Regions from separate parts of the Homo sapiens genome. Here region 1 is linked to region 2. The links are contacts of gene promoters, found by promoter capture Hi-C in blood cells and fetal thymus (Javierre and others, 2016). All regions are on one chromosome and are shown on one strand. The core of a region is centred on a gene start or on the middle of the fragment in contact, and the rest is flanking DNA. Distances in the headings are between cores, read along the strand shown. Region 1 holds the start of AP1S2 (adaptor related protein complex 1 subunit sigma 2). Region 2 holds the start of TRAPPC2 (trafficking protein particle complex subunit 2).

Region 1 (3,431 bases), core at 282-2,781, 2.1 Mb after region 2:
AAAAAATAGTATCTACAGATGGAATGGATGCTGAATTCTAGTGTGTTTTATACTTAAACTAATTTGTATGTATTTATTTGTGATCTGCAAATGTGTTGATTAGTCTGCATGTTTCATTTTTAACGCCAAGCTTTTTGTAATCCAATTGGTCATCTCAACTGCAAACAGAAGTATTGTTTCTACAAAGGTAATTTAAAGGCAGAATTCACATAGGTATCCTTTTTTCTTTTAATCACTGTTAAGTTCCTTTAACAGCGTTACTGCAAATAAGATTCAAGCATGATTCTCAAGATTCACCACACCATCTTGAATTTGAACACGGGGAGGGGAAATTTACAGAACCAATGTAGAATAAAAATGGGCCCTAAATTTCGGTAAGAAATTATCGTCGCTTTTTGTAACCACCCAAAAAGGTATCAACAAGATATCTAGAAATGTATGACGTGGCAATTCAACTTTAGTAAAGTTAAAATGGTCTTATTACCTCACTTAAAATGCGTCAGGGGAACAAAATATAAGGACATTATTAGGTGATACCAAAGTGCCTCCCGTGCAAGTCCTGAAGATAGCGGCATTCGAAGGGGGCAGGAAGTGAAGCATCAACTGGGCATTTACTGCAAACCCGTTACCAGAACTTGGAAAAGAATGGACCTCGTATTCCTAGATCTTGGTGACCAGAAAGGGTGAGGGTTTGCCTGCGAAGAGTATGGGCTCAAGGCTGTCTGGAGCAGGGTCCTGTATCCGCCCTACCACTTTGCAGGACGAAAAAACAATGTATTCTCCTTAAAATAAATTATGTCCTAACATGGGACGAAACCCGGTTGCAAAGCACGAGTATTCCTTCCCTCGTGTTAAAAACCAACGCTTTGATTTTGCCGCAAATCACAGGGCACCACAATTCCTCGAGACTGGCATTAAAAACAATGGGCTCAGCCGCGGCGCGGGCTCGGGGCCAGCGTTCCTCGGGTCCGGCCGTCGCCGGTGCCTCCCCCCCACTCCCGTGGCCACACTCCATCACTGACCAAGCCCGGGAGAGGTGACAGGCAAGGAGCGGAGCAGACAATGGCATCCGCCGCCGCGCAGGGGGCGCCAAGAGTCCTCGGCCGCCACCGCCCCCGGCCCCTCCCGAAAGCGCCCCGCAAAACTTGAGGCGATTCCCGAACCACAGGTGCCGCGAGGCTGTCGCGGAGCCCGGGACTGGCCCCCACATCCCCGGGCGCGGCGCGGAGTGGTGCGGAGGGCGCGGACACGGAGAGAAGTGAGTTGCGGGCGCGGCGACCCAGTGGCGGGCCGGGCAGGCTCGGGGTGGGGTCGTCGGGGCGCGCGCGGGGTGGCGGGGGGCGCGCCCAGTCCTCCCTCCCCCTCTCCCCCATCCCCGGCGCCCCCTTTCGCCCCCAGGGACTTACGGCGGCCGCGGGCCGCGGGCGCGGCGGAGCTTGGCCGGCGGCGGCGGCGGCGGCGAAGGGGAAGCCCCTGTCGCCGTGCTGAGGAAGAGAAGCCGTGGTGCTGTGGGGAGGACACCCGGCTGGCATAGGGCAGGCTTAGGCGGAGAGGGGAGGGCAAGCTGACAGACCCCGCCCCGGGGGCCGGACGAGGGAGGAGCCGGGGCTGCGGCGAGCTGAGGGGCGGGCTAGGCGACGCGCGGGAAGCGGCTCAGCGGTCGCCAGCGGCACCGGAGGCAGCGCGGGTAACCGCTGAGTCCAAGGCAGCCGATTGGAGGTTTCTTCGCTGAGGGGAGGTGCGAACCGGAAGCCGGGCCACGTGACCCGGAAGCGGCGTTTGCCGGGCCCGAGCGCCCGCGCGCCCGCGCGCTCTTGCAGGTGCCTCCGGGACGCGCGCGGGCGGCTGTCCTGCTTGTTTAATGATAGGAGGACGGGATTCTGCAGCGTCCTTAGCCTAGCGGGTGGTGCGGGGCAGGGAAGTTCCGGACAGCGAAGAGCCACGTTCGAGCTCTAATGATTCTCTGTGTCCCCAGAGAGGAAGTGTGAAGTGTGACGGCTGACGAGGAGGGTGGGAGGAGACGAGGGAGTGCTGCAACTCTGGAAAAACAAGTCAGCTCTTCTGTGGAGCTCGTCACGCATTCACGGGCCTTTTGCTATCATTCTGCCTCAAAATTGTCCGGAATCCGCCCTCTCCTTCCCATTGCACTGCTCCAGCCCTAGCCCAGACACCTTCCGCCCCGAGCTTCGCGGGAGTCTGTTCCCTGGGCTCGCCTCGCCCATCCTCGGTGCTGCGGACTGGATGAGTTACCGTCCGTTCGGCTGAAAAGCCCGGACAGCACCTCACCTTCGAGATCCCGCTTCCTTCACACTGGGTCGCCCCACCAGCCGCCTGGGTTCCAGTTTAGCACTGCCGACGACTTGCTGTGCCTGGCATGTCCTTGCTCCCAAATGTCACATCTATGAAGCCTCACCCTAAAACCCTGTAAGAGCGATTCCCTCTTTCACCCACATGCCCGTTAGCCTTTATTTAGCACACCTTAAATTGTATTCATTTTGCATCTCAATCTAGTTCACAGCCTGGTATATAACAACTAATAAATGTGAGTTGACTGATAAAGACTATAAAATGATAAATTTGTTAAGAGCTGTAATGCTGAGCGTAATGCCTGGGCATAATGGATGTTCATAATTTTCTGAATGATAGAATGGATGAATCATCTAGTCATTTACAGATAAGGAAAGGGGAGTCCCACGGGATTAGGTGACCTTCCTTGAAGAGCCACGGGTTTCCCATATCGAAATGCTATTCATTACCCGAGTCACCTAGGTTCTTACAAAGGAAGCGAGAAAATTGCTTTTGTTGGGCCATGCCCCTTTTGCAGAGGTTCCTAAGTATAGTCGCCAGAATTTTTTTAATGGCCTAAAGTAAAAAAAGAAATGCTAAAATTTTCACGAAGCTAAATGTAATCAATGTAAAGGAATCCTTTATTAGGGATTATATTCTTTTTGTGTACATTATAGTATCTATGAAACTAAGACAGTAGTTTTGGGGGCTTTTAAAAAATGCTTTTGTATGACAAAACAAAAAGAAATGTGTAATACTTCCCCTTTTCAAGCACTACTGTGCTGCTTGGAAAGTTTCCTACTAACATGTATGATTAATGTATACTGGAATATTAAAGAAAGGGGACGACACACGGCACAGAGCTGGCTTTCTGTAGTTCTTTAGGTCCCCCTCGCCCCCACCAGATTTCTCCCTACCTAGTCATGCCCCAAAGGTGCTTTCGAATGTCCCATTTCTCTCTTACTACAAGAAACAGATGCCATTAACCAGTTAAAAGATAGCTCTAATGCTACACAATGAAAACTCGCCCTCTGAATCCAAATGCTGCTTTTCTCTTTTTCTGTACAAAACACTTATATCCTGAAGGTTCCTGAGATAGCCACTTCCAAGTTTAAACTCTGATTATGCTCCTAATGTTGCTCTGA
Region 2 (3,402 bases), core at 733-3,232:
CGTTCCATAGGCCAAGCCCAGGGCTGCTCATTTGAAGTCACTGGGAAACTAGAAACTAAGGGGTGGGTGGAACACCAACAGTGCCAGAGTGGGAGGATGCTCAGTGAACTTGGAAGTCTCTTAAGTTGTAGACAAATGCAAGATAAAACTCATGGACTCCAGTTCCAAAGACATCCATTTTTGTAGCATGCCTCTTTACAACCTCTATAGAAGAGCTTCTAGAAAAACTGCCCTGTGCTCGCGAGAGCAGTGATTTCAGTTGTTCCATAAACCTGGGGTCATGAGACTAAACTGGTATGGCATGGGACATGTCTATTACAATGAGGAGGGGCAGTAGGAATACTACTGATAGGTCTTTAATGTGACATTTTTCTATTAATATTATAAGCAATTCTCCCTCCCCTAGAAGTTATGCTAGTTTTTGGAGAACATTTTATCTAATTATATTCATGTATTCAACTGTGGGACCAAAGGTGGAGGTGGGAGTAAGGGGGTCTTCAGGAACATTTTTTTTTTTTAAACAGTGGACAAGTGATTCTACTTAACAACATTTACAACATATCAACATCTTTTTAGAACACTGTTTTCATCATTCCACTCAAAAGCCTTTGATGCATCTCAGCTACAGGATCATGTACTAGTATTCAAGATTCCCACATTGCTCCACGTGTCTTTTCTCAGCCCTATTGTTCCACCTCTGCTAGCGTTGACTCGTTTACTTATTTTTTCTCCCAAATTCACTTTGACTATATCGAGTTCAGAGCTACTATCATTTCTCTCTTCATGCCTGGAATGTTCTCCTTTATTCTGTCTGCAACCACTACCCATCCTTTAAAATCCAACTAAGCCTCTCCTCCTTTTCCATTGTTTCCAACAAAAACTTACAGGTTCTCCACCTCCTATGAAGTCCTGTCACTCTTACTGCCTCTTAAATACTTTAAGTTTTTCACAGCCAGAGATCAAAACTCATCGTACTCATCTTCAATGCTGTACACAAAGCTGACATCCAATTCTGTCCTCACAGGACTTAGATACCATATAAGGCTTATATTCCCAGCACACAACTCTGGAGTCAGGCTAGATTCCTCACTGCTCCCAAGAAGGTCGTGGCTTTTTTTTTTCTTTTAATGATTCCTTTGCTCATTTTTCCCCTTCCTGTGATGTTCTCCTTTTTGCTCACCACCCGAATCCTACCCATCAAGGCCCCGATAAAGACACACTTTTTCCACAGAGATGATCTGGATCACTTCCATCTTCAACCACCTCCCCTTTAAACTCTTTATCCAGTCTACAATGTATCTTAGTTCTTGTTCAATTCTCTGGCTGTAACATTTTCATTATCGCTTCTGAGAGGTTTGGTTCCTTTCCTTTCTAATTACATTTAAGCATCATGAGGACTGGCTCACCTTTACCTCACAGCACACAATGGTTGGTACTCTAAAACGTTTAGCTCTGTGGATCTCAACCCGGAGCGATCTTGCTTCCAAGAGGACATCTGGCAATATCTGGAGACATCTTTGGTTGTCACACTTGGGGGAGAAGGTGATACTGACAAAATAGAGAGCAAGGATACAGCTAAACCTACAATGCACAGGACAGCCTCCCAAAACAAAGAATCTTCCGGCTCCAAAAGGCAACAGTGCAGCCGTTAAGAAACCCTGGGTTAGCTGAATGACCCAGTGAACCGCGAAACCACAGCCCCCGAGAGGGCGGACGTCTGCAGGTGGAAGGGCTGCGCGGATGAGCCAGCGGAGGGCTGGCAGGTCCGGCCCGGCCACCCCGGGGAGGGGTGGAGGTACAGGACCAACATCCGCGTCACGCAGGGGCTACGAAGTCCTCCAGGGACTCAAAACACCCGCCCCCCGCCGCACTTGCTCCATTCCCTACCTGCAGTGGGAGGCCGACAACGGAAACGCAATGTCAGTTTCCGCGGAAGAGACCCGCGCCCCGAACCTGTAGCCAGAACGCCGAAGCAGTTCTCGCGATACCCTGGGATGTGCTCTCGCGATACGTAGGCGGAGCTTCCGGCCGGTGCTGGGCAACCAAGCTCATGCGCCGTAGCTCTTCAGCTCGGGAAGGCTATATTTAGCAGGTTTCCGGAAGTTGCCGGACTGGCTGTGAGGCGGTCCTGCCTCGCTGCCTTCAGTCCCTAGTGTCTGGGTCCCCGCCCTCCAGCCGCCTTTGAGTCGTGCCTGGGTCCTCGCCCTTGCCTCAGAACCGCGAAGAAAGGAAGCTCGCGTGTTTGCTAGAAAACCTAGTTGGGAGTGCGAGGCAGAGAACGTTCAGCACCTTTGTTCCTCCCGAACCCTCGGGACAGAGGCAGGGTTCTGAGGGCAGGGATTCCCCCTCGTCTTGGCCCCACCGCCCGGGCTGGGCACTAAACTCGGGCCGCGGCGGGGCGAGCGAGGCGGGCTCCGGAGGGAGCTGACGCCTGATGATGGCGCAGGTAGACACACCTGCCCCTTCTCGGGCGGAAATAAAGTCTTGTTTTGTGTTCGTTAAACTTTCGCCGCTAGGCCTCTTATGGCTTCCCCGGAGGCCACTGGTCTGTTTTCAGACGTTCACGTTCCCTCTGCCCCGCAGGTAACCTATAACCATTTTGTCTTTTAGTCCAACATGTTTACCGTGGCTGATGTGTTGAGTCAAGATGAACTGCGCAAAAAGCTATACCAGACGTTTAAGGATCGGGGTATACTGGATACACTCAAGGTATCGGATTTAGGCGTATCTGTGTCAGCTTTTACAAGTGTAACCTGTAACAGGTAGTTCAAATTCAATCAAGGTTTAGGTTTTAATAATCGTATGATACATAGATTGTATTGGTGAATTACATTTTTATATTCCCGAATAACTCTGTATCCTGAAACATTACAGTCTCTTGAAAATGTTTGAGAAAATGTTGAGTTTGAGTCGTCTTAAAGGAGCATATTCAAATAATTAATTGAACTGACAATAAGATAGGAGAAGGAAATATTTGTATAATGAACACAGTAAGATTAGGCTTGTTTTATAAATATGGCTTATAGGTTCCTAAATTAATAAGTGGGTTTGTAATACATTTGGATGAAGGACATTGACACCATATAGAAAATACTAGTGTACTGCTTAATAATAGTTTGGGAAATGAAAAATTTTATCTTTAAACTATATTGAAATGTATGAATGTTTAGTTTGGGCAGAAAATACCTATTAGTATGCTTTATATTTGGATTAACAGCCAGGAGTAGGATTAGCTCAACGTGTTTTCATTGAAATATGCATTTCAAAAGCATATTTTACGTTTAAAATATGTAGCTATATCCTGTGTATGTATCCTTTTTTAATTTAAATTATATGGTGAGCATTTCCCTGTTTCCTTAAAAGTTTTTTGAAATCTTCATTTTCAGTGGCAACAGGCTTATC

Evidence for each region. The method cuts DNA at HindIII sites, captures the fragments that hold promoters and counts their contacts. A CHiCAGO score of 5 or more calls a contact.
Region 1: a contact is called between the fragment with the promoter of AP1S2 here and the fragment with the promoter of TRAPPC2 in region 2, in 1 of 17 cell types (non-activated CD4 T cells). The highest score is 5.5, in non-activated CD4 T cells.

The regions. Positions count from the first base shown.
Region 1 is chrX:15,853,282-15,856,712 of GRCh38, forward strand. It overlaps AP1S2 (adaptor related protein complex 1 subunit sigma 2), which reads right to left and starts at 1,532. Exons shown (of 6, transcript NM_001272071.2): 1 at 1,407-1,532. RefSeq lists silencers at 959-1,248, 1,469-1,748, 1,839-1,948 and an enhancer at 1,566-2,170. The HindIII fragment of the contact is 8,276 bases long and covers 129-3,431 here.
Region 2 is chrX:13,732,638-13,736,039 of GRCh38, forward strand. TRAPPC2 (trafficking protein particle complex subunit 2) reads right to left here and starts at 1,983. Exons shown (of 6, transcript NM_001011658.4): 1 at 1,888-1,983; 2 at 1,407-1,548. OFD1 (OFD1 centriole and centriolar satellite protein) reads left to right here and starts at 2,111. Exons shown (of 23, transcript NM_003611.3): 1 at 2,111-2,446; 2 at 2,611-2,709. The coding sequence starts at 2,435. RefSeq lists enhancers at 1,485-2,684, 2,453-3,024. The HindIII fragment of the contact is 7,868 bases long and covers 1-3,402 here.